Regions from separate parts of the Homo sapiens genome. Here all the other regions are linked to region 4. Evidence: promoter capture Hi-C in 16 types of primary human blood cells and fetal thymus (Javierre and others, 2016). All regions are on one chromosome and are shown on one strand. The core of a region is centred on a gene start or on the middle of the fragment in contact, and the rest is flanking DNA. Distances in the headings are between cores, read along the strand shown. Region 1 overlaps SMAP1 (small ArfGAP 1). Region 2 overlaps SMAP1 (small ArfGAP 1). Region 3 has its middle 15 kb from the start of SMAP1. Region 4 holds the start of SDHAF4 (succinate dehydrogenase complex assembly factor 4).

What was found. The method cuts DNA at HindIII sites, captures the fragments that hold promoters and counts their contacts. A CHiCAGO score of 5 or more calls a contact.
Region 1: a contact is called between a fragment that was not itself captured here and the fragment with the promoter of SDHAF4 in region 4, in 9 of 17 cell types (total CD4 T cells, activated CD4 T cells, non-activated CD4 T cells and 6 more). The highest score is 11.9, in total CD4 T cells.
Region 2: a fragment that was not itself captured here is called in contact with the fragment with the promoter of SDHAF4 in region 4 in 13 of 17 cell types (activated CD4 T cells, fetal thymus, non-activated CD4 T cells and 10 more); the score reaches 18.3 in activated CD4 T cells.
Region 3: a fragment that was not itself captured here is called in contact with the fragment with the promoter of SDHAF4 in region 4 in 4 of 17 cell types (naive CD4 T cells, activated CD4 T cells, non-activated CD4 T cells and 1 more); the score reaches 6.3 in naive CD4 T cells.

The regions. Positions count from the first base shown.
Region 1 is chr6:70,687,164-70,693,425 of GRCh38, forward strand. All of the region lies in intron 1 of SMAP1 (small ArfGAP 1), which reads left to right. Among named protein-coding and RNA genes, the nearest start is that of SMAP1, 22 kb to the left of the region's middle. The HindIII fragment of the contact is 6,982 bases long and covers 1-5,258 here.
Region 2 is chr6:70,671,373-70,678,331 of GRCh38, forward strand. All of the region lies in intron 1 of SMAP1 (small ArfGAP 1), which reads left to right. Among named protein-coding and RNA genes, the nearest start is that of SMAP1, 7.0 kb to the left of the region's middle. RefSeq lists an enhancer at 5,500-6,069. The HindIII fragment of the contact is 578 bases long and covers 984-1,561 here.
Region 3 is chr6:70,649,310-70,656,247 of GRCh38, forward strand. No RefSeq gene overlaps it. Among named protein-coding and RNA genes, the nearest start is that of SMAP1, 15 kb to the right of the region's middle. The HindIII fragment of the contact is 4,121 bases long and covers 1-3,467 here.
Region 4 is chr6:70,565,572-70,571,942 of GRCh38, forward strand. It overlaps SDHAF4 (succinate dehydrogenase complex assembly factor 4), which reads left to right and starts at 1,359. Exons shown (of 3, transcript NM_145267.3): 1 at 1,359-1,433. The coding sequence starts at 1,370. RefSeq lists a silencer at 1,647-1,706. The HindIII fragment of the contact is 5,796 bases long and covers 660-6,371 here.

The sequences.
Region 1 (6,262 bases), core at 518-3,017, 120 kb after region 4:
TTATAGAATGTTTCCAGCATCATGGAAAGTACAGTTTGACAGTGCTGTTTTAATTTTTAAATTTTAAAAAATGAGGATTATCATTTTCATGAAGTAATCATTTTCTTAAATTTGTGATGAATTTCTTTGCCATGTATTCTTTTCACATTACAGCAGTTTCTCAAAAAACAATTCCAATTAACCAAGGGAAATATATTTAGTAGGATTTTAGGTTATTAAGATTTTATTGTACCATGTAATTTGCTGCAACTTATATATTTATTGCTGAATGATTATAGTACATTTTTCTCAATGTAGGGCATTGAGTATTTCTAGTATTTTGCTTCTCTGTTTTGAAGAGTAAAGTTAGGTTAAGAATAATGGTCATTTTTTTGCCGCCATTTAGTTGAGATAATAGCTTCTTTACTCTTTTGGTGCATGTTTGGGATGGAAGGAAAGCTATGAATCAAAACATACATAGAGAAACTATAATGTGTGAATCACAGTTGAATATATGTTGGATGATTAAAAAAATACATAGACACTTGACCCAGTTTCTCCTAATGGTAACATCTTGTAAAATTATAGACAAATGTCACAACCAAGATACTGATGTTGATACAACCCACCAATCTTACTGTGACTTCTGCAGTTTTGCTTGTACAGTAATTTGTGTGTGTGTGTGCATGTATTTTTATTCAATTTTATCAAAAGTGAAGATTCATATATCTGCCACCACAGTCAAGATATGGAACAGTTATATACCACAAGAATCTCTTGTGTTGCCCTCTTAAAACCACACATACTTTTCTCTGTCCCACCCCACCCATCCATTCCTAACCCATAGCATCCATGAATCTGTTTTTCACTTCCAAAATTTTGCCATTTCAAAAATGTTATAAAAATAGAATCATGCAATATGTAACCTTCTGGGATCGGCCTTACTCAGTGTAATTCTTTCAAGACACATCCAAGTTTTTGCGTCTGTTAATAGTTCTTTTCTTTTTATTAAATAGAATTTTGTGATATGTTTGTGCCATAGTTTGTTTAACCATTCATCTGTTGAAGGACCTCTGGACTGTTTGTAGTTTTTTAGTATTAAAAATAAAGCTGCTGTTAACATTTTTGTATAGATTTTTGTGTGGATGTAGGTTTTTATTTCTCTGATAAGTGCCCAGTAGTGCAGTTTGCTGGGTTGTATGGTGATTGCATGCTTAGATCCATAAAAAAAGTGCCAAACTTTTCAAAAGTGGTTGTACCATTTTATACATCTACTAATGATGTGAGCTATTTAGTTGGTCCTTTGCCAGCATTTGGTGTTGTGACTGTTTTTTATTTTAGTAATTATGTTAGATGTGTTGTAACAGTGATATTGGCTTCAATTTGGATTCTCCTAGTGGTTTATGGTGTTGAACATCTTTTCATGTGCCAGTTTTCCATCTGTATGTCCTCTTCAGTGAAATGTCTGTTCATGTTTCATTTTCTAAATAGATTTTGTTTTTTACTGTTGAGTTTTGAAAGTGCTTTATATATTCTAGATACTAGTCGTTTGTCAGATATGTGCAAATACTTTTTCCTACTTTGTAGCTTAACTTTACATCCTCTTCACATGGTCTTGCATAGAAGAAAAGTTAGTTTTGAAGAGGTTCAATTTATTAATTTTTTTTATGGACTGTATTTTTAGCAAGTCTAAGTACAATTTGCCTAACCCTAGATCCTGAAGATTTTCTCATATATTGTTTCCTAAAAGTTTTACAGTGTTATGTTTTATATTTAAGTCCATGATCCATTTTGAGTTGCATTTTATATATGATACAAGGTATGGATCAAAGTTTTTTTTTTTTGCATATGGATATTTGATCCTTTGAGAACATTTAGACAGAGTCTTACTCTGTCACCCAGGCTGGAATGCAGTGGTGCGATCTGGGCTCACTGCATACCCTACGTCCCAATCTGCTTCAAGTGATTCTCATGTCATGCCTCAGCCTCCTAAGTAGCTGGGATTACAGGTGTGCGCCACCACGCCTGGCTAATTTTTGTAGTTTTAGTAGAGATGGGGTTTCACTATGTTGGCAGGGCTGGTCTTGAACTCCCGACCTCAGGTGATCCACCCGCCTCAGCATCCCAAAGTGCTGGGATTGCAGGTGTGAGCCACTGTGCCCGGCCTGAGAACCATTTCTTGAAAAGATTAGTCTTTCTCCTTTTGCACCTTTTTAAAAAAGTTAATTGACCATGTATGTCCAGGAGGGAGCACTTCTGAAATTTATTATGTTCCATTGATCTGTTTGTCTGCCTTTATGCCAATGTTGTACAGTCTTTATTACTGTAGCTTCTTAATAAGCCTGGAAGTAAGTAAGGTAGTGTAAGTCTTCCAACTTTGTTATTTTTTTCGAAGTTGTTATGCCTATTCTAGGTTTCTTGAATTTTCATATGAATTTTAGAATCACTTTGTCAATTTCTACAAATAATCTCAGATTTCAATGGGGAATCATTTGAGTCTGTAGATCCATTTGAGAGAGAATTGACATCTTTTAATATAGAGTCTTCCAATCTGAACAAAATATATCTCTCCAATTATTTAGATCTTACTTAATTTTGCTTGGCAGTATTTTATAGTTTTCAGTGTATGGGCCTTCCTTATTTTTTGTTAGATTTTTCCATAAGGTTTTATTTTTTAATGCTATTGTAAAAGATACTTTAAAAATTTTAATTTCTGATTATTACTAGTATATAGAAATACCGTAGGTTGCTGCATACTTAGGACATCTTGCAACTTAGTTAACCTCATTTATTTGTTTTCATAGCTTTTTTCGTGGATTCTATTAGGTCTCCTACCTAGACAATTATCATCCTCGAATAAAGGCAATTTTTGCTTTTTTCCAATTTGAATACCTTTTATTTCCTTTTTCTTATTTTATTGCACTGACTAGAACCTTTAGTAAAAATAGAAGTGGTGAAACTGGACTTGCTTGTTTTGTTCCTGATACTAAGGGAGAAAGGGTTCAGACTTTATCTTTTATGTAAAAGTCTTACAGATACCTTTTATCAAGTTGAGGAAATTTCCTTTGTTGCTAGGTTGCTGAGAATTTTCATCAGAAATGTATGTTGAATTTTATCAAATGCTTTTCTGCATCTTTTGAGATGATCATATAGTTTTTAAAATCTTTTTTTTTTGTTTTTTGAGACGGACTTTCGCTCTTGTTGCCCAGGCTGGAGTGCAGTGGTGCGATCTCGGCTCACTGCAACCTCCGCCTCCTGGGTTCAAATGATTCTCCTGCCTCAGCCTCCTGAGTAGCTGGGATTACAAGCATGCACCACCACGGTCAGCTAATTTTGTATTTTTAGTAGAGATGGGGTTTCTCCATGTTGGTCAGGCTGGTCTTGAACTCCTGACCTCAGGTGATTTGCCCGCCTTGGCCTCCCAAAGTGCTGGGATTACAGGCCACCCGGCCGGTTTTTAAGTTCTTTAATATATTGAACTACATTGATTTTCACACATTAAACTGCATTCCTGGGAGAAACTACACTTGGTCTTGATGTATCTTTTATATATATATATATATATATTTTTGAATTTGATTTGCTATGATTTTACATATTGTCATGAAGGGTGTTGAACTGTAGGTTTTATTTCTTGTGATATCTTTGTCTGGTTTGGTATCAGAATAATTTTAGGCTCACCAAATGAATTAGATAGTATTCTCCTCCTCCCCCTTCCCCCCTTCCCCACTGTTTTTTTTTCCCCTCAATTTCCGGAGGAGTTTGTATAGAACTGACACTATTCCTTAATCGTTTGGTAGATTTCCCCAGTAAAGCTATCTGGGCCTTGAGTTTTTGTTTGTTTTTTGCTGAGCAGATTCAGTTTATTTAATCGATATTAGGCCATTCAGGTTATCTTTTCCTTCTGGAGAGAGCTCATTTCTGTCTTTCAAGGAGTTGGTGCACTTATAGCATAAAGTTGTTTATGATATTCCTTTATTGTATCTGTAGAATCTGTAGTAATGTCTCTTCTATCATTGCTGATATTGGTAGTTTGTATTTTCTCTCTTTCTTCATCAGCCATGCTAGAGATTTACCTATTTTATTGATGTTTTTCAAATAATCAGTCTTTATTTTCATTGACTTTTTTGTTGCCTTTTGGTTTTCTACTTCACTGATTTTTTAAAATTTTTATGGGTACATATAATAGTAGGTGGATATATTTATGGGGTACATGAGATATTTTGATATGGGCATACAAAGCATAATAGTCACATCAGGGTAAATGAGGTTTCCATCACCTCAAGCATTTATCATTTCTTTATGTTACAAACATTACAGTTATACTATTAGTTATTTTAAAATGTGTGATAAATTATTGTTGACTGTAATCACCCTGTTGTGTTATCAAATACTAGATCTTACTCATTCTAACTATATATTTAAACCCATTAACCATCTCAATTCTGTGGCCCTCTGCACCAACCCCCTACTCTTCCCAGTTTCTGGTAATCATCATTCTACTCTCTATCTCCATGAGTTCAATTGTTTTAATTTTTAGCTCCTATAAAAGAGTGAGAATGTGAGAAGTTTGTCTTTCTGTGCCTGACATTTCACTTAACATAATATCCTCTAGTTCCATCCATGTTGTTGCAGATGACAGGACCTCATTCGTTTTTATTGCTGAATATAGTACTCCAATGTGTATATGTACCACGTTGTCTTTATCCATTCCCCTGTTGATGGACACTTAGGTAGCTTCCAAATGTTGGCTATTGTGAATAGTGCCACAATAAACATGGCCGTGCAGGTATCTCTTCAGTATAATTATTTCCTTTCTTTTGGGTATATAGCTAGCAGTGGGATTGCTGGATCGTATGGTAGGTCTATTTTTGGTTTTTTTGAGGAATCTCCGTACTGTTCTTCATAGTGGCTGCACTAATTTGCCCTTTTCTCCACATCCATGCCAGCATTTGTTATTTTCAGTCTTTTGCATAAAAGCCATTTTAACTGGAGTGAGATGATATCTCATTGTAATTTTAATTTGCATTTCTCTGATAATCAGTGATGTTGAGCACCTTTTCATATACCTGTTTGCCATTTGTATGTCTTCTTTGGAGAAATGTCTGATTAGATCTTTTGTCCATTTTAAAATCAGATTATTATATTTTTTCCTATGGAGTTGTTTGAGCTCATTATATATTCTGGTTATTAATCCCTTGTCAGATGGAGAGTTTGTAAATATCTTATCTTATTTTGTGGGTTGTCTCTTCACTTTGTTGTTTCCTTTGTTGTGCCAAAGCTTTATAACTTGATGTGATCCCATTTGTCCATTTTTGCTTTGGTTGCCTGTGTTTGTGGGGTACTACTCAAGAAATTTTTGCCTGGGCAGAGTGTCCCCAATGTTTTAGTAGTTTCATAGTTTGAGGTCTTAGATTTAAGCCTTTAATCTATTTTGACTTGAATTTTGAATATGGTGAGAGATACGAGTCAAGTTTTATTCTTCTGCATATTTATATCCAGTTTTCCCAGTACCATTTACTGGAGAGACTGCTCTTTTACCCAATGTATGTTCTGGGCCCCTTTGTCAAAAATGAGTTCACTCTAGATGTATGGATTTATTTCTGGGTTTTCTATTCGATTCCATTTGTCTATGTGTCTATTTTTTGTTGTTGTTTTTGAGATGGAGTCTCGCTCTGTTGCCCAGGCTGGAGTGCAGTGGCGTGATCTTGGCTCACTGCAATCTCCGCCTCCCAGGTTCACGCTGTTCTCCTGCCTCAGCCTCCCGAGTAGCTGGGACTACAGGTGCCCACTACCATGCCCGGCTAATTTTTTGTATTTTTAGTAGAGACAGGGTTTCACCATGTTAGCCAGGATGGTCTTGATCTCCTGACTTCATGATCTGCCCACCTCGGCCTCCCAAAGTGCTGGGATTACAGGCGTGAGCCACTGCGCCCAGCCTATGTGTCTATTTTTATGCCAGTACCATGCTGTTTTGGTTACTATAGCTATGTACTATAATTTGTTTTTGTTTTGGTAGGCTGTTTTAGAAGATCTGTAGTATAATTTGAAGTCAGGTAATGTGATTCCTCCAGTTTTGTTCTTGTTGCCTGGACTATTCTGGGTCTTTTGTGGTTTCATGTAAATTTTAGGATTTCTGTGAAGAATGTCATCTTCTTTTTTTTTTTTTTTTTTTTTTTTAAGACAGAGTCTTGCTCTGTCACCAGGCTGGAGTGCAGTGGTGCAATCTCTGCTCACTGCAACCTCTGCCTTCCAGGTTCAAGCGATTCTCCTGCCTCTGCCT
Region 2 (6,959 bases), core at 23-2,522, 110 kb after region 4:
CAGCCTGGCCAACATAGTGAAACCCCGTCTCCACTAAAAATACAAAAACCATTAGCCAGGCATGGTGGCAGGCACCTGTAATCCCTACGTGGGAGGCGGAGGCAAGAGAATTGCTTGAACCTGGGAGGCGGAGAGGCGGAGGTTGCAGTGAGCCGAGATCGCGCCACTGTACTCCAGCCTGGGTGACAGAACAAGACTCCGTCTCAGGGAAAAACAAAAACAAAAACAAAACATATAGATAAAATTCACATTGAGCGGTTTCTTCCCACTATCCCCTCTCCCCAGCCCTTGGCAGACACTATTGCATGTTCTATCTCTGTAGGTTTGGCTGTTCTGGATATTTAATATAATACAACATATGAACTTTTGTTTCTGACTTTGACTTCATATGTTTTCAAAGTTCATTCATTTTGTAGCATGTGTCGGTACCTCACTCCTTTTATGGCTGAATAATATTCCATTGTATGGATAGACCACAATTTATCCGTCTATTGATGAACATTTGGTCTGTTTCCATCTTTTGCTAGGTTTGATTTTGAGCATGTTTAAATTGGTATGAAAGTGAGTCTCTTGCCCATTCAATTTTGGGTAGTCAGAAACATAAGGTTTTTTAACTCTAGAGATTGTTTTGTTTAGCCTGTCTGATATTGAGAGGGTAAGCTCATTGCTGAGATCAAACACTCGTTTCTTTGTTCCGCAGATCTTGACTTGAAGACACACTGTTAGATATTGTATTAGGTAAGAGAGCTAAAAAAATTTGTAAGACCTAAAGGAGTTTGTTTAGTGTGGGTTGTGTTTTTGCAAATAAATGATTCTAAAACGATGTGCTAAGTGCTTGTAATAATGGTTTTAAGAAATAACTACCTCTATACTTATTTTGGGCTGTTGTTCCCCTTGCACCTTGACTTTTGCCCATTGGTGGTCTTTACAGTTCCTAGAATGCTGTTTCAAGACCTTTGCACGTGCTGTTCTTCTGCCTGGGAAGCTTTCTAACAAGTTTTTGCCTGCTCAGCTTTTGCTCATCTTTCAATTCCTGCTTAAATGTCTTTTCAAGGGAAATAATTCTCCTTGATCCTCTGAGATTAGGTTAGGCTTCCGTTTATACATAAAAGACAACACCCTGAATCTTTTATTGCACTTATCACAATTGTAATTAAACATTATTTAGGTAATTATGGGGTACACTGTATCCCTGCTGGATTATAGCTGTAAGAGAGGAGACCTTGTTTATCTTGGTTAGGGTAGTATCCCCAGTTTTCAGGACATGTGGTAGGCAAATGTAACTTAGCAAATATTTTTTGAATGAATGAATGTGTGAATGAATGAGCACAGAGCCCCTGGCAGGCAGCAGGGTGTGTGAAAGGGAGTGCACCTGTGAAAGGGAGTGGCATGTGGAGTGACCCTGTTGGGACCAGTCACAGAAGGAGTCTTCATTTGAGCTAGGTTCTGAAGGTGGAGTGGGATTTCATCAGATAGAGAAGGAATTAAAGGACACAGCTGCACACACACATGTACCAGTATGAAAGAACAGAAGAAGTTTCCATACGGCCCTTACTAGATAAGCTTTCTTTAAGCATGATCAGTTTTGGTAGTCTCAGGTCAGAGGAAGAACTGGGATAGTGAGGATTGCAGGCAAATCCTGAGTTAGGAGATGTTGAACAGTGGTCCAAGAAGAGGGCAAGAGGACCTAAATTCACACAATGTCAATATATAAGTCAGGGTATAGAGCAGGAAAGAGATCCACTGTAGCTATTTTCAGGAATCAGGTACTTACCAAGTCATTGGAAGGGCTGGAGGAGGGAAAGTCAGGGAGCCACTGCTGAACTGCTTTCAAGGCCACACATACCACCACTGCTACCGCTGCCCCACTGTCATAACTGCTTCTCACCCAGGAGACTGGTATGCTGATGGGGGCATAAGGCCTATGGAGCTGCAACCACTTAGTGTCTGTAGACGTTTTTTGTTAGTTGCCCTTTCTGTAGGAATGTGGCCTCTGTCCCACTTGTGCTTTCCATGTGCAGATAATTGGCAGATCCTAATTATGTCCAATACCTTGCCTTCAAGGGAGTCTTTTAGCTTTCTAACTTTTTCAAAAAGTAGAAACGTGTAGAGCCCATTTGATTGCAAGAGCCAATCCAAGAGTTCATGTTTTTCATTAAGTCTTTGATATTTTAGAGTTGTTACTTTTAAAGTGTAGTAATATTTACTAAAAAGTAAAGTTCACCTTGGGGAACTGGTGTTTATTATGATGTTGATGCTTATAGGACAAATTTATATAAGTGAAAGTCTGATTATAATTCACCTAAAGAAATTTGCCAATCTAAAAGTTTCCTCAAAATGTGAAACTTCAGTCTGATGGGTCTGTTGTTCTTGTAATTCTGCTGATCTCGAGGTTTTTCCTGATTGGGCAGAGCCCTGGTATCAGAGCTGAGATGGAAATCATTGGTCTCTGACTCATCAGTTTAAAACTTGGGCTGCATGTTGTCTCCCCTCCTTTTGTTCTTCACAGTTCTTCTTTGTCTTTTTTGTTTGTTTGTTTGTTTGTTTAAGATAAAACTTTCAGTACTTGACTTCATTAATTAAGGAGGCTTACATCTCCTAAATTGTTGCTGTACAAGATATATATATATATCTTTCTCCACCTTTATTAACCTATAACAGACTTGAATCCATGCTCTCTTTAAGGCAAAGTAGAATGTTTAAAACGATATACTTTATAAACTCAAAAAAGTGCTTTGGCATTTTTTTTTTCTTTTTTTTTCTTTTTGGTACAGGGTCTCACTCTGTCGCTGGGCTGGAGTGCGATGTAGGCTCTCTGCAACCTCTCCCTCCTTGGTTCAAGCAATCCTCCCACCTCAGCCTCTCAAGTAGCTGGGGCTACAGATGTGTGCGACCATGCCTACCTAATTTTTGTATTTTTTGTAGAGACCACGTTTCGTCATGTTGCCCAGGCTAGTCTTGAACTCCTGGGTTCGAGTGATCTGCCTCCCTCAGTCTCCCAAAGTGCTGTGATTACAGGTGTGAGCCACCACACCCAGCCCCTTTTGCTTATTTCAAACGCTTCTACTAATCGTCTTTTCACGGATTAGAATTAAGCCATTTTAGTTCAGTTTCTCAATTTTCTCAATGAAAGAAGATCAAAGAAACTTGGAGGCCATTTTGTAGTTATTATCAGAAGAGTTGACCGCCTTACATTCTTACCACTGTAAAGAGTTGATTTAACAGACATTTAATTTTGTTGATAAATCAATATTTTCTGGGCACTAAAAAGATTAAGTACTACGTTAGATACTACTGTGTGTGTTAAAAAAGTTTTGGATGCCGGGTGCAGTGGTTCATGCCTGTAATTTCAGCACTTTGGGAGGCTGAGGCAGGTGGATCATCTGAGGCCAGGAGTTTGAGGCCACCCCTGGCCAACATGGCAAAACCCTGTCTCCACTAAAAATACTAAAATTAGCCAGGTGCAGTGGCACATGCCTGTAGTCCCAGCTACTCGGGAGACTGAGGCAGGAGAATTGCTTGAACCCTGGAGGCGGAGGTTGCAGTGAGCCGAGATGGCGCCACTGCACTCCATCCAGCCTGGGCGACAGAGTGGGACTCCATCTCAAAAAAACAAAAACAAAAAGTTTTGGATATAGTTGTCTACAAGCTAGTTAGAGATCTCAGTAGACATGAAACAATTACCAGTTAACTTCTAATCTATGTTTACATTGGTAGATTCATTAGAAGTTTAGAGATAGGGTAGCTCCATTGTGACCTGGAGAATGTTAAAAAAAAAAAAAAAGCAAATAATAACATTACATATATACTCACAAATTATATAGTGTTTTTTTTTTTTTTTTTTTTTTTTTTACCAGAGATGATGTACTTCACACTTTACATATACTAACTCATATAATCTTCAAAACAACCTTTGAGGTAGGTAATATTATTACCCAGGTACACAGAACTTAAAGTAGTGGAGCCAGAAATTTTTTCATTAAAAAAATTTTAGGAGGCCTGGAGCAGTGGTGTACACCTGTAATCCCAGCATGTTGGGAGGCCGAGGTGGGTGGATCACCTGAGGTCAGGCGTTTGAGACCAGCCTGCCCAACATAGTGAAACCCCATCTCTATTAAAAATACAAAAATTAGTTGGGTGTGGTGGTGCACTCCTGTAATCCCAGCTACTGGGGAGGCTGAGACAGGAGAATCACTTGAAACCGGAATGCGGAGCTTACAGTGAGCCAAGATCGTGCCATTGCACTATAGCCTGGGCAACAGAGCGAGACTCCATCTCAAAAAAAAAAAAAAAAGAAAAAAACAACTTGGAGGGGAGTGACTGGCACTTTCTTAGGACCTGGGGATTAGCAGGGGATAGGTAGATAAGGTTCATGCTCAAAAGGATCTGTTAGTCATTGGTGTGGAGAAAAGAGTTAACAAAGCAGGCCTTGCGGTGGTTGGCTGACATCTGAGGGGAATCTTGGGGATGGTCCCACCACCCTAAGTGATGAGTCTGTCATTGTGCCTAAGTTGTTTGTATAATAAATATGGTTTATGTTGAATATCTGCTTTTCTTCTGGGATTCTGGAATTGGCATATGTGCCAGCCAGGGTTACCTACATGACCAGTCTCCCTAATAACCTTTGGCACTGAGTCTCTGATGAGCATCCCTGGTTGGCATCATTTTACATGTGTGGTCACAGCTCACTGCTGGGAGAATTAAGTGTGTTCATTGCAACTCAACTGGAAGGGAGCACCCGGACGCTTGCTCCTAATTTCCCCTGGACTTTTTGTGCCTTTCTCCTTTGCTGATTGTGCTTAGTATCTTTTTGCTATAATAAATCATAACGATGAGTACAACTGTATATTGAATCTTTTGAATCTTCTTAGCAAATTACTGAACATGAGGGTGGTCTTGGGGAACTCAAAGCATAATTGGTAATATATATTTTCTTCCAGTATATTATACAGGACATGTTGGAGCCTCAGTATATCTGTGCTGGCTCTATAACCTAGCCTGCTAATAAGGGTACAGTCTGGAGGAGCAAGGATGAACATTAGAGGCTTTTATAACCTGGGGAAATTGTGATTTTATTGAGATGAGATAGGGGTGGGAATCTGAACTGTAGAGTCAGGATTTGAGCCCGGGAGATATAGTCTGTGCTGTTAACTATGTTTGATGGTATGATAGATAAAACACCTGTTTTTGTTGTAGAAATTTGTGATGTAAGAGATTGTTGTTGGGAAGACTGTCACCTTCGGCTAACTTAAGGTTTTTCTCAGATTATTGCCAAATGTGTTCAAATGTGGACAATATCTTCATTTTAGTTTCCCTCCTTGCATTTAATAGCAGAACCACCATAACTTCAAAATACCAGTTTAAACAAATTGGAATTTTTGTCTCATCACTAAAGTTTATTTTATTTATTTATTTTTTCCTTGTTATAGAGACAGGGTCTCATGCTGTTGCCCAGGCTGGGGTGCAGTGGCGTGATCATAGCCCATTGCGGCCTCTAACTTCTGGGCTCAAGTGATCCACCTGCCACAGCCTCCCAAGTAGCTGGGACTACAGGCTTGTCACCATGTATGGCTAATTTAAAAAAAATTTTTTTGTTGGGTGTGGTGGGGAGGGGCCTTGCTATGTTGTTTGGGCTTTCAAACTCATGGCCTCAAGCAATCCTCTTGCCTAGGCCTCCTGAAGTGCTAGGATTAGAGGTGTGAGCCACCTCACCTTGCGTAAACTTTATTTTAGAAACTTACTGAGTCCACAGATAAGTGCTTTAGTGTTTTTCTTTGTTTTTTGTTTTGTCTTCATATATATATATAATTTTTTTTTTTTTTTTTGCTATATCCTTAGGTCAGATACTGGTCATCTACCTGGGCTTTTTAAACCATAGAAACAGCATGATAGAATTGAAAGAACACTAGCTTGGTTGAGCAAAGCTAGGATTCAGTCCAAGCTTTGCCTCTGACTTGCTTAGTGACCAGTTGTCCTTGTTCTCTTTAATCCTTATTGCAAAGATTTATTTCAACCTTGTATGGTCTGTGTTCTTTCTTGAATCCCATACCTTGTCACTTCTTTTTTTTTTTTTTTTTTTTTTTTTTTTGAGGTGGAGTGCCAGTGGCTCGATCTCGGCTCATTGCAAACTCTGCCTGCCGGGTTGATGCCATTCTTCTGCCTCAGCCTCCCGAGGAGCTGGTACTACAGGCGCCCGCCACCGCGCCCAGCTAATTTTTTGTATTTTTAGTAGAGACGGGGTTTCGCCGCATACCTTGTGACTTCTATGTCAGTGTTTACTATTATTATTAAAAAATTATATTATTGAGAGTTTATTTTTTGAGTCCTATTGAGATATGGATTGTCATCAAACTTTTATAGTTTTTATTTAAAGCTTTTCACTGATGATTTAGGTCTTGCTGAGCAAATTTACCTAGTATTATCTTTAATTATCCCAAGCTATATCACACAACTCATACAACTCTTCCCCACAGGTTGAGGAGTCCTTTTGTTTAAAATTGTTTCACTGTAATGCTTTCTTACTATTAATGTCAGTATTTCTACCTCAGATGTTAGGTAGAACTGTGTTTAACTTGGAGTGGCATTTAGTTACTCAGATGTTAGGTAGAACTGTGTTTAACTTGGAGTGGCATTTAGTTACAGTATCATATAGAAGTGATTTTTAAAATTATTTCACTTAAAACAGAGCTTAGATAAAGTGCTCTTGGAAACATGCTAATTTGATGTTTACATATATTTTGAGTGATAAATGTGAGGACCTTGAGGGTCCGAAGGAAAGAGAATTAAAAGTAATTCTAATAATCTTCCATTCTCTGTGGCCCCTATACCCCAGCAATTTTTGGTCTCCATTTGACTAGAGATCCAAGTGATTGATGGTAGACCTTCAGATGTCTCTTATTGATCTTTTATAAAGCGTGCCTTTCATTGAGCAGTGATGAGCTCAAGCCTAAACTTAAGAA
Region 3 (6,938 bases), core at 157-2,656, 84 kb after region 4:
GTCACCCAGGCTGGAGTGCAGTGGTGCGATCTTGGCCACTGCAACCTCCGCCTCCCAGGTTCAAGCAATTCTCCTGCCTCAGCCTCCAAGTAGCTGGGATTACAGGCGTGCACCACTATGCCCGGCTAATTTTTATATTTTCAGTAGAGATGAGGTTTCACCATGTTGGCCAGGCTGGTCTCAAACTCCTGACCTCAGGTGATCCACCCGCCACAGCCTCCCAAAGTGCTGGGATTACAGGCATGAACCACCGCGCCCGGCCCTTTTTTTGTGATTTTATATAACTACATACAGATTCCTAACTGAACGCCTTTCTAGTTGAAATATTACTGAAATTAAATGAACCTTAATCATATTCAACTTTTCTGCCTCTTTCCCTTTTTTTTTACAAACACACATAGATGAGTCACTGACCCATTTGAGTCTTAGTTACTACGACCATTGTATATAAACAAAATTATTATTAGAACATGAAAGGTGAAAAAATACTAAAGCTAACCTCACAGGAAATTACCTTTATGAATTTATTTTTTGTTATATGGCCTCAGTGTTGAAAATGCCTGATAATTTCTTAGCGGGGAGGCAAGGTAAATGTTCAGCTATTGTATAATTTGCTAAATTACTAATAGAAAGAGAGAACTCAGACTGGAAACAGAATGAGGATCCCTGACAGATAAATAAACTATTTTCTTTCACCTCCAAATGATTCAAATGTAAACACAGTAGGTCGTTTGGGAGCACATTTAGATTTTCCCAAATGACCACTGTAACTAGGGATGTTTCACTTGCCCTCTATTCAATTCGATCTCACTATTAATGGGCATTCCAGGATATTTTGTGATCAGGAGACTTGAAAGAGTTAATGCACTTTGCGAAATGCCTAACTTGTATTTGGGATTAATTTACTTCCACAGCAGGATCTGGCTTATTAGAGCTTCAGAAATGTCTAAAGAAAATTCTGTGTTAGATACATCACTGAAATGCTTGCCATCTCCCTGGGAGCCCACATTAAATCAGCTTGGTGGAGTAAACTTATTTTTGTCTTTTTCTTCTCATGAGTTTTTTGCAAAACAGCTGGCCTTTTCTAAAATGAGGTTGACTAACCATTTATAAGATTTGAGAAGGGACTAATTAGTATTGTACGTTGATTGGGGATCGTAGCTATTTTTATTTAAAAATCACATAGAGAGAAGTATTTGTTTGGTGACTTGCTTATAAAATTACTTTTCACCAACCACAGTGTTATAGTGTGGCTACTGTGTAGGAACAAGGCCCAGGATTTTTTTTTATCACTCTCTGAGATTGGGCCTATTGCAATCATTGTTACCCAACTACATGATTTCACACAATCTTACACGTTGAGGCAAGAGATAGCAGTAACCCTGACCTCTTGTTTTCACAGAGGTCTTCATTAATTTTTCAAGGTACAGGCTAGAGCTAAAGTCTTTCTGCAGGCCTTTCCTTCAGTATTGTACAGAAATGACAGGATAAAGCACAGGAGTCTGGCAGTTGAGAAAACGTGACCACGAGGACCCCCTCTCATGTATCCCGACCTTGGATTAGGAGGTTCCTTCAATGCCCTACTGACACTGGGCCAATACTTACCTCCAAAATAGCATCATGAATAACACAAAAAAGCATTGTCTTACTCCATTTGGGCTGCTGTAACAAAAATACCTTATACTGGGTAATTTATAAACAATAAAAATTTATTTCTCATAGTTCTGGAAGCTGGAAAGTCTAAGATCAAGGCATCAGCTGATTCGGTGTCCAGTAAGGGCCTGTTCCTCAAAGATGGTGCCTTCTCTGTGTCCTCATATGGTCGAAGAGGCTCTCTGCTCCCTTAGGCCAATTTTATTACTACCCTTATCCTATTGATAAGGGTGGAGCCCTCGTGACTTAATTACTGTCCCAAGGGCCCAACTCTATATCACTTCAATGGGGATTAGGTTTCAACATGAGTCTTGCAGAGACAATTCGGACCATATCAAACATGGACGGAGTTTCCAGGGTTGAAGCCCTTAGCATCCAATCTCACTACTGCTCTTCTCTCACTATTCCCCAGCTTTTAAGTCCTGTACTTGCAGTTTTTAAAGAACCGAGATATCTCTTTCCTCTTTACCTACATTCTTAGTAAAACCTCAGACTGAAACTCCTTCTCCATGCCCCGCCCTCCTTTGGCTAACCCATCATTGGACTTTCAGGTTAGAGATCAGCTTCCCTGACCACATCCTGCCCCACTAAGAAATAAAAACAAACCAAAAAACTCCAAAGATACTAGCAACAGCAACAAATTTAGAACCTGTTCACCGTTTTCCCACAGCATCCTGCACTTATGCTTGAAATAGCACCTGTACTCTATTAAAATCACCTGTTTACTTGGGGGTGGGGCAGGTCTCCCCTGTTGGACAGTAACATTCTTGAGAACACTGTTCATCTTTATATGCCATTATGTTAAAGAAGTATTGGACACAGTTTTTTTCATCAAGACATTTGCAATCCATTAGTAGAAAAGAGGTATATTTAAAGCCAACAATACAAAATATACATAATTACATAAAGTACAAAGTACACATAATTAAGTTCAAAATTGTTTGGTATAATTATTAGATCATTATATAGACAAGGCAGATCCATGAAGGCTGGAGCCATTTCAGAAGTCTTCATGGGGAAGTTGAGATTAGAATCGGTCAGATGTTGGCATAGCCTTAGGACTGGGGAGCAGAGTAGGGGGTGGTGTTCTAGGATGACAAAGTAAAATGAACAAAAATGTGGAAGATGAGGTGAGCTTTAAAAAATGGGTAAAATTCACCAGATGGAGAAGGCTGGGACATGGAGAAGGAATCTCAAGTAGAGGTCACAGCAAGAATGAAGCATAAGGAAAGAACTAGCTTGATAGAACACTGAGTAGTATTCCATGGTGAAAAGTAATTTAGATTAGACTTGATGGGAAACAAATCATTGTAGATTCATAATTGCCATGGTGGTTTCTTACTTTTCATGACTCCCAAGGAATCACTTGTCCCATGCTCCCTGCTTTTATATCATTGCCTCCCAAGTTTACTCTGAGCTTGGACATGTGACTTGCTTTGGTCAATAGGATATTAGCCAATATGACCTTTAGTGCATTGGGCTTTGTCTTTTTTTTTTTTTTTTCAGATGGAGTTTTGCTCTTGTTGCCCAGGCTTGAGTGCAATGGAGGTGTGATCTCGGCTCACTGCAACCTCTGCCTTCCAGGTTCAAGTGATTCTCCTGCCTCAGCCTCCTGAATTGCTAGGATTACAGGCATGTGCCATCATGCCCAGCTAATTTTGTATTTTTAGTGGAGGTGGGGTTTCTCCATGTTGGTCTCAAACCCCCGACCTCAGGTGATCCACCTGCCTCAGCCTCCCAAAGTGCTGGGATTACAGGCATGAGCTACTGAGCCTGGCCTTGTCTTTTGTAATGGTGCTTTTGCTGTGTGAGCAAGCTTAGGCTAGTCTCCTTGGGGAGAGAGAAAACAAAATGAAGAGAGGGGCCTGGCTGTGCCAGTCATTCCAATCATCCAGGCTTGGAGGCCATCAGGAACCAGCCAGCCCAGTTGAGTCACCAGAAAATTAAAATCACATAAGTGACTTCAGGTGAGACAACCGAATTTCTAGCTAAGACCAGCCATAATTGTTGACCTATGGAATTCTGAGCAGTAAAATAGTCATTGTTTTAAGCTACTAAGGTTGATCTCTGCTTACCTCCCAAGCCTGGCCTAAGTTGTAGTTTTAAGCTACTAAGTGGTTTGTTATGTAATAGTAAATAAATGATACAAATTTTAATATGAAAGATTTTCACCTGTCTCTCTGAGGGCTCCTTTTCAGACACCTGTGCAGGTTCATCATGCTTGGCTTATATTAATAATAAATATTGATGCTCCTCAAAGCTCAATCCAAGGCCATCTTCTGTTTTTACTCAGTTATTCCTTCTCATGTGATTTATTCTACTTCCATAGCTTCTTTAGTGTGATAATATATTACCATGTTTAGGCCAGGTGCTGTAGCTCACGCCTGTAATCCCAGCACTTTGGGAGGCCAAGGATGGCAGATCACGAGGTCAAGAGATCGAGACCATCCTGGGCAACATAGTGAAACCCCGTCTCTACTAAAAATACAAAAATTAGCCAGGTGTGGTGGCACATGCCTATAGTCCCAGCTACTCGGGAGGGTAAGGCAGGAAAATCACTTGAACCTGGGAGCCGGAGGTTGTAGGGAGCCAAGATTGCGCCACTGTACTCCAGCCTGGCCTGGTAACAGAGTGAGACTCCATCTCAAAAAAATATATGTATGTATTACCATGTTATACTTTCTTTCCTTTTTTTTTGTTTTTGAGAAGAAGTCTTGCTCTTGTCCCCCAGGCTGGAGTGCAATGGTGTGATCTTGGCTCACTGCAACCTCCGCCTCCCAGGTTCAAGCGATTCTCCTTCCTCACCCTCCCGAGTAGCTGGTATTACAAGCCCGTGTCACCATGCCCGGCTAATTTTTATATTTTTAGTAGAGACAGGGTTTCTCCATGTTGGCCAGGCTGGTCTTGAACCCCTGACCTCAGGTGATCTGCCCGCCTTGGCCTCCCAAAGTACTAGGATTACAGGTGTGAGCCACCGTGCCCAGCCATGTTTATACTTTCAATCACTAATGTATACTTCCAGCCCAGACCTCTTCTCTGAGCTCCAGACTCAGATATCCAACTGTCTGCCTGACAGCTTTTTTTTTTTTTTTTTTTTTGAAGACAGGGTCTCACTTCAGTTGCCCACGCTGGAGTGCAGTGATGCGATCTTGGTTCACTGCAGCCTCGACTTCCTGGGCTCAGGTGATTCTCCTACCTCAGCCTCCTGAGTAGCTGGGACTATAGGTGCACGCCACCATACCCGGCTAATTTTTTGTATTTTTAGTAGAGATGGGGTTTTGCCATATTGGCCAGGCTGGTCTCAAACTCCTGGACTCAAGCAATCCACCTGCCTTGGCCTCCCAAAGTGCTGAGATTACAGGCTTGAGCCACTGTGTCGGGCTCTATTTGTATATTTCAAAGGCACTTCAGACTTGTGATCACCCTAGAACATACCTCTGGGTGTTGCCCTGCTCAGTGAATGGCACCATCCACCTAAGCTGCATAGGCAGAAACTTCAGAGTCAGTCTTGATACCTCCTTCTCCCTTACTGCCTCTATTGTCCATTACCAAGACTTGTTGATTTTATCTTGTTAAATTTCTCAAATTCACCTACTTCTTACTATCTCTATAACCACCATCCTGGCTGGGCGAGGTGGCTCATGGCTGTAATTCCAGCACTTTGGGAGGCCGAAGTGGGCAGATCACCTGAGGTCAGGAGTTCAAGACCAGCCTGTTCAACATGGTGAAACCCCATCTCTACTAAAATACAAAAATTAGCTGGGAGTGGTGGCACATGCCTGTAATCCCAGCTACTCAGGAGGCTGAGGCAGGAGAATCGCTTGAACTTGGGAGGCAGAGGCTGCAGTGAGCCGAGATCATGCCACTGTACTCCAGCCTGGGCAACAGAGTGAGACTCCATCTCAAAAAAATAAAAAATAAAAAAAAACCCCACCATCCTAATCCAACTATTGTCATCTCTTCTAGACCACTGCCAAAGGCACTTAACTGGTCTCCCTGCATCTGCTCTTGCCTACATCCAGTCTTTTCCCTACACTGCTGCCAAGAAGGTTTTTTTTTTTCCCTCAAAACATAAATCTGATCATGTCAGTCAGAGTTCATAATACTCCAATAACTTCCTATTACTCTTGGTATAAAGGTAATTCCCTAATTGCAATTTATCTTATTTAACAAAGCTGTGTTAATTCAAGTTCTCCAAGAAGCAGATGCTAAGATGGGATTAGACCTGAAAGATGTTTATTAGGGGGGATGTCTATAAAAATAAACAGGAGAAAGAGAATGCAGAAGAACTTTCAGACTGTGAGGCAGGTCTAACACCTGTGGAAGAGACGGGGCAGGAAGGAGGATTTGGGTAGGAAGAGGCTCAGATTGGGTAGGAAGAGGCAGCAAAGTTCTGAGAAAGTTTTGGCCAGGTCAGCAGGGGTCTTTGAGGCAACATTGCCTGTTAAAGGAGTCTCTTGTCTTATATCAGTTGCCTTCCCTCACCCTCCCTACCAGTGCATGCTCGTTATTGGCTGGGAGCAGCCCAGGGGAAGCATGGCCTTGGTGCGAACACAGTGGCGGATTCAGGAGAGCAGTGGCTCAGACTGTCAGTTGCCTGTGCTCCCCTGTGGCAGAAGAGCTGAGTGGTGGGCTTTTATGACCACTGAAAAGCCCTGTATGGTTTGATCTCTGCTTACCTCCCCAGCCTGGCCTTGTACCATGCAGCCCTTTGTGGTCTCAGTATCAATACAAGTCTTTTGTTACTTCCTTGAACATAAATATTATGTGTTTCCAACCCCTCTCCCCAATACAGAAACTAATTTTGTAATTTTAATAGAGAAAGGGTTTCTCCACGTTGGTCAGGCTGGTCTCGAACTCCCGACCTCAGGTGATCTGCCTGCCTCGGCCTCCCAAAGTGTTGGGATTACAGGCGTGAGCCACTGCGCCTGGCCTAGTTTGTCTTTTTAATTGATAAGTAATATTTTATTGCATAAATATATCATTATTTGTTTATCCATTCTCTTGTTTATGAACATTTAAGTTGTTTACAGGTTTTGACTACTGTGACTAAAGCTATTATCAACATTCTTATATAAGTCTTTTTATGAATATATTTTTTTCATTTCTCAGAGTGGAATTTCTGGGTCACAGGAGAAGTATATGTTTAACTTTAACTGACAAACTGGTTATAAAATTTTATGCTCCCAACAGCAATGAGAATACTAGTTGCCTCACTACCTACTTACCATTTGATATTATCATTCATTTTATTTTAGTCATTCTAGTAGGTATAAAGTGGCATT
Region 4 (6,371 bases), core at 109-2,608:
CATAAATAAGCTAAATTATGCATGCTGGAAATAATTTTTTTTCCCTGTTCTGTTCCTTCAGGGCCTCTGTTAAGTGGGGCTCTAAATATGAAAAGCAGTCAGTTGCCAGCTGGGCCAGTTTATTGAGCAAAGCCATCATCCGACTTTGAATTTTTTCCTCAGTCAGCTAGTCACAAGGAATTCATTATTAAACTGTAGATATAAGCTAAAGGTCAAAAGCATGATATTAGGACTGTGAGCTCCCTACAAATGAAAACTGTTTCCGTTTTGACTTTGGCCCAGTTCTGTGTATCCCACTTTCTCTCTTTTTTCTTTTTCTGTTTTTGAGATGGAGTTTTGCTCTGTCTCCAAGGCTGGCGTGCAGTGGCGTGATCTCTGCTCACTGCAATCTCCGCCTCCCGAGTTCAAGCGATTCTTCTACCTCAGCCTCCCAAGTAGCTGGGATTACAGGAATGTGCCACCTCGCCCGGCTAATTTTTGTATTTTTAGTAGAGTGTTGGCCAGGCTGGTCTCGAACTCCTGACCTCAGGTAATCTACCCGCCTCGGCCTCCCAAAGTGTTCGGATTACAGGAGTGAGCCACCTTGCCCGGCCCACTTTCTCTTCGTAAAAGGATCTCCTTATCTAGGAGAACCAGATAATTCTCAGTTCATGATAAGAAGCTTCGATCGTATAACCACTTGATGTCACATGGTCAGACACTACCAAGGCGCAATAGCTAGCCAGAAACTTTTCTTTAAAAGAAAAGACAAAATTCCAGAATTCTGGGGGCCTTCACTATGATTCTGTAAATATTTCCACGAGTTGCACAAAGCATCCAGGTCTGCCACATCCACTCAACGCTATCAGAGCTGGTGGGATGTAAGGGTTAAGGGGCAGAGCTCATTGCACTGGATCCTGGCCTGGATGGAGAGCCTTTTCTTGCTTTGCACCTCATTCAAAAATGTCGCCTTTCATATCATCTGGTTAGTCGGTCAGAATGGACGAACTAGGAGCTGACTGAACAAAGATTTAAAACACAAAACAGGGAGAATTAGGTAAAAGAAGCATTTTACATGAGTGAGAGAGTAAAAGGTGCTCAATCTTTGTAAACTATAAAAGGGATCTTCCACGGGCCATTTCGGCTCAGACTGACAAGCATGAACGGAACGGAATTATTCCCTCTTCTAACTGCAGCCACGATTTGGCGTTTTAACACCGGGCTCAAGGTAGCCTGGGTCTCTCTTGGCCAAAGAGCCCAGGGATGCCTCTAACTCCTTTTCTAAAGCCGGCCACGGAGGCCCCGCCCTCTGCAGGGAGGCTCCGGATCATGCCCCCTGCTCCTCCCACTACTGCTTTGCGCCTGCGCGGAGGCTCGGGGAGTCGGCGCCATGACCCCATCGAGGCTTCCCTGGTTGCTTAGCTGGGTCTCGGCCACGGCGTGGAGAGCGGCAAGTAAGCACCTGGCCTCGGGGCCACGGTCGCGGGAGGGGTCGTGAAGGCCCAGGCGCAGAGAGAAGCGCCTCCCGCGGAGGAAGCCGCGTGTGTCCTGGCCGTTCGGTGTTGCCAGGGGCTGCCCAGCTTCTCCCGCCCAGCCGCCCACCCGGTGGCCTGGGCAGGTTCCTGCAGCGCCCCGGGTCTCGGGTGGGACTAGAGCGAGAAAATCGCTAAGGCCCTTTCAGCCCCCGGGACGTCCGCTTCCTACCGAGCACGCGGTGGCCCAACAGGACCACAAACGTTCCGGGTTGTTCCTGTGGGAGCTCGCAGGGCACACCGCACTTCGATGCCCCAGAGAAAAATGGAAAAGAAGGCCCTTTGGGAATGGGAGTCATTGATTTACTTATTTATTTACATCATTATTTACAGGAATCCGCGCTCCTGGTCCAGGCTCCAGCAGAAAAGGATTTGTGGCAGTTTACAGTTTATCTTTTAAAAATGGGAAAAGTGCAGAAGTGAGCCAAAGGCAAATAAGTATAACGTAAATTAGATGAAGCCAGGAATTGTCAGTACAGAAAAAGCATTCATGCTTTCAGTAAAACCAACATTTTTAAACCCATTGTTGTTGGAAATTTTTCTCAAGATAATACAGTTAGCAGCCCAGACTATGCAAAACATAATTTTATTTATTTATTTATTTATTTGTTTATTTATTTTGAGATGGAGTCTCGCTCTGTCCCTCAGGCTGGAGTGCAGTGGCGCAATCTCGGCTCACTGCAAGCTCTGCCTCCCAGGTTCACGCCATTCTCCTGCCTCAGCCTCCTGAGTAGCTGGGACTACAGGCGCCCGCCACCGTGCCTGACTAATTTTTTGTATTTTTAGTAGAGACGGGGTTTCACCGTGTTAGCCAGGATGGTCTCGATCTCCTGACCTTGTGATCCGCTCGCCTCGGCCTCCCAAAGTGCTGGGATTACAGGCGTGAGCCACCGCGCCCGGTCCGCAAAACATAATTTTAATATATGACACCTGGAGAAGTTATGTAAGTTGAAAACAGTAATTATTGCCCTCAAATGGTGCCAGATTTCTATGCAATTTGTTTTCCTTTGTGCAATCATTTTACCCAAATACAAACATTTTACTTAATTGTATAAGTTTTAAATAGTCCAGAAATGAATAATACAGAAAGTGAAAGTCCTACATTATCCAAACCTCAAGGTAATAACGTTAAAATTTTGTAGGGTTCATTCAACATCCCCCTTTAACTAGTTTTAAACAATTATGAATTATTCCATATATATATATGTATACACACACACACACGTAGCACACATGTAAGCTATGTAGCAGTCATGTAAGCTATGAAGCACAACCAGCATCTATGAACTTATACTCCAATTTAAGAAATAGTCTCTATTGCCAAGGAGGTCTCTATTTGCTGCTTCCTGATACAACTGTGCAATGGTGTTTTTAATCTTTATAGAAATGTTTTCATATTGTTGATTTTTTTTCAGATAACGCTGTGTTTTGTGATTGAGTCACATTGACGCATGAGGTTGTAGTTATTCATTCAACTGTGTGAACATATGATGCATTTTCCAGTGCCCTTCTCAAAGGACATTTGGGTAATTCCAGAAACACTAGGATTGGGTGCTACACATTCTTGTGTACCTTATTTGTGCATTAGTGGAAGGAGTAGAATTCCTGGAGTATGTTATAGGTCTTTTCATTGTTACAATATAATGCCAAGGTGTAACGGCATTTTCTAATTCTATAGCAATTTTCACTTCTACCAGCAGTGTATTGGAGTTCTGTTGTTCCACAAACTTGCCGAAACTTAATTTTGCCTTAGGTTTTAATTTTTGGCTGCCTACAGGGAAATGAAATGACACCTCATTGTGATTTTGCTTTTCTCTGATTAAAGAAGTAAAACATCTTTTCAAATATTCACTTTTTGTGAAATACCTCTTTCTTTTTTCTTTTTTTTTTTTTTTTTTTTTGAGGCGGAGTTTCGCTCTGTCGCCCGGGCTGGAGTGCAGTGGCGCGATCTCGACTCACTGCAAGCTCCGCCTCCTGGGTTCACGCCATTCTCCTGCCTCAGCCTCCCGTGTAGCTGGGACTACAGGCGCGCGCCACCACGCCCGGCTAATTTTTGTATTTTTAGTAGAGACGGGGTTTCACCGTGTTAGCCAGGATGGTCTCGATCTCCTGACCTCGTGATCCGCCCGTCTCGGCCTCCCAAAGTGCTGGGATTACAGGCGTGAGCCACCGCACCCGGCCTCTTTTTTCTTTCTTTGTTTTTGAGACGGAGTTTCACTCTTGTTGCCCAGGCTGGAGTGCAATGGCGAGATCTCAGCTCACTGCAACATCTGCCTCCTGAGTTCAAACGATTCTCCTGCCTCAGCCTCCCAAGTAGCTGGTATTACAGGCGCCCACCACCACACCCAGATAATTTTTTGTATTTTTGGTAGAGACAGGGTTTTGCCATGAACTCAGGTGATCTATCAGCCTCGGCCTACCGAAGTGTTGGGATTACAGGCGTGAGCTGCCACGCCCGGCCTTTTTTCTTAACAGATTGCTTCTTATTTATATTCTTTACATATATTTGTATGCTAAACCTTTTTTAGTTACGTAAGTGTCAAATACCTCAATTTGTGGTTTGTTTCTGTCACTGCTAGGCAGAATAGAATAACGGGTCTGCATGTGTAATCATGCAGCTTCAATATAAAAGGTATCTTAATAAACAGATGTTTATAATTTTATCTATAAAATTTTGTCTTGATCCTTTTGTTTATTGTGACTGCCTTGTGGTCTTGTCTAAGAAACCCTTCTGTACCCTAAAGTCATGGACATAATCTCTTATATTTTCTTCTCAAAGGTTTATAGTTTTGCTTTTCACATTTAAGCCTTTATTCTACCAGGAATTGATGGTTTGTATATGGTGTGAGGCAGGAAACCAGTTTTCATTTTTTTTCATATCAAACACTTGTCCCAGGTTCATGTATTTATAGGACCTTTCCCCTACTGATATAATGCGAGCCATCATAAATCAAGTTTACTTATACATATAGGCATACGTTTATTTCTTGGCTCTTTTCTCAGTCCCATTGACCTATTTGTCTATTCCTGTGCTGATACTACCTGTCTTGATAATTATAGCCATAACTTTGTTATAAATCTTACTATTTTCTGACTGTTGTTTATGTACAGAAACATGATGCTTAATGATTTTGTATCTAAATTACCTTATTAATTTAAATAATTTACTTTGCAGATTTTGGGGACTTTGCTGCATAGCCATTCATATCATCTGCAAATGGTGACAGTCTAGTTTCTCCCTGTCTAATCCTTTTTTTTGAGAAAGGGTCTTGCTCTGTCACCCAGGCTGGAGTGCAGTGGCGCAATCTCTGCTCACTGCAACCTCCACCTCCCGAAATCAAGTGATTCTCCTGCCTCAGCCTCCCGAGTAGCTGGGATTACTGGTGTGCACCACCATGCCCGGCTAATTTTTATATTTTTTTTAGAGATGGGGTTTTGCCATGTTAGCCAAGTGATCCTTGAGAGCCTCGGCCTCTCAAAGTCCTGGGATTACAGGCGAGAGCCACCGTGCCCCCCACCACCCTCCCTGTCTAATCCTTATATCTTTTTTCTTTCTTTGCTCAGATTTCCAGCACCATGTTGACTAGAAGTGTTGACAGCAAGCATACTTATCTTGTTTATGATTATAAAGGGAATGCATTTCTTTTTATCATTAAGGTGTGATATTGCAGTCATTTAGATAAAATTGCTACATTTTTTTTTAAGTCACCATCTCCTAATAACTTCTAAGGCATGTTTTATAAACGAATCCTCAGGGAAGAGTTCTAGCTATCTCCCAAATAATTCTGTTCTTTTAAACCAAAAAATCTCCGTCTTATGTTTTTGTTAAAACTCTTTATTTTGGATTTACATTTACTTACAGGATTTAATGATCCATAACTGTGGGTCTTCAGAGTCCAAGCCTTTGTGAAATAAAATTTCATGGAACATGAAAAAAAAAATATGGTATTAGCTACAGTTATACCCTTTTTGGGTTAAGGAAGTCTGTTTCTATGTAGAGTTTTGGGATTTTGTTTTGTTTTTGTTTATGTATTTGTATTTGTTTTTTAATGATGAATAAATCTTGAAGTTTACTTAATTGATTTTTCTTTGTCTTACTGAGGTGTTCTTCGTCTTACTGAGGTGTTTATCATTTTCTGCTTTAATCTGTTGAGGTGGTAAATTACAGATTTTTCTGATAGTGAATCACTTGCATTCCTAGAAAATATTCCAAAGGATCATAGTGATTATATTTTTAAATATAATGTTGTATTTGTTGTGCTTATATTTTGTTTAGAAATTGGCCTGTAATTTTCTTCTATTATACACTGAAACCCCTGCCTCCCGGGTTCAAGTTATTCTTCTGCCTCAGCCTCCGGAGTAGCTGGGATTACAGGCACACGCCACCACTCCCAGCTAATTTTTGTATTTTTAGTAGAGACAGGGTTTCACCATATTGGCCAGGCTGATCTCAAACTTCTGACCTCGTGATATGCCTGCCTTGGCCTCCCAAAGTGCTGGCATTACAGGTGTGAGCCACCGCGCCCAGCCTTCCCTGGTTTTAATATTAAGGTTATTCTAGCCTCATATAATGTACTGGGGATTCTACTCACTCTTTTCCCTTCTTTGTTAGATTTTGTTTAAGATTGGAATTATTTGTTCCTTGAGGGTTTGTTACAACTCACCTGCAAAACTGTCTAGACCTGTTCTTCTCTTCGAGGGAAGACTTTAAATTACTTGTTTAACTTCTATAATGGTTATTATTATATTTATCAGGTTTCCTCTTAAGTCAGTTTTGGTAAGTTAACTTTTTCTGGAAAGGTTTCCATTTTGTATTGTTTCAATATATAGGCATAAAGTTTCTGGTATTTTTTTAAAATT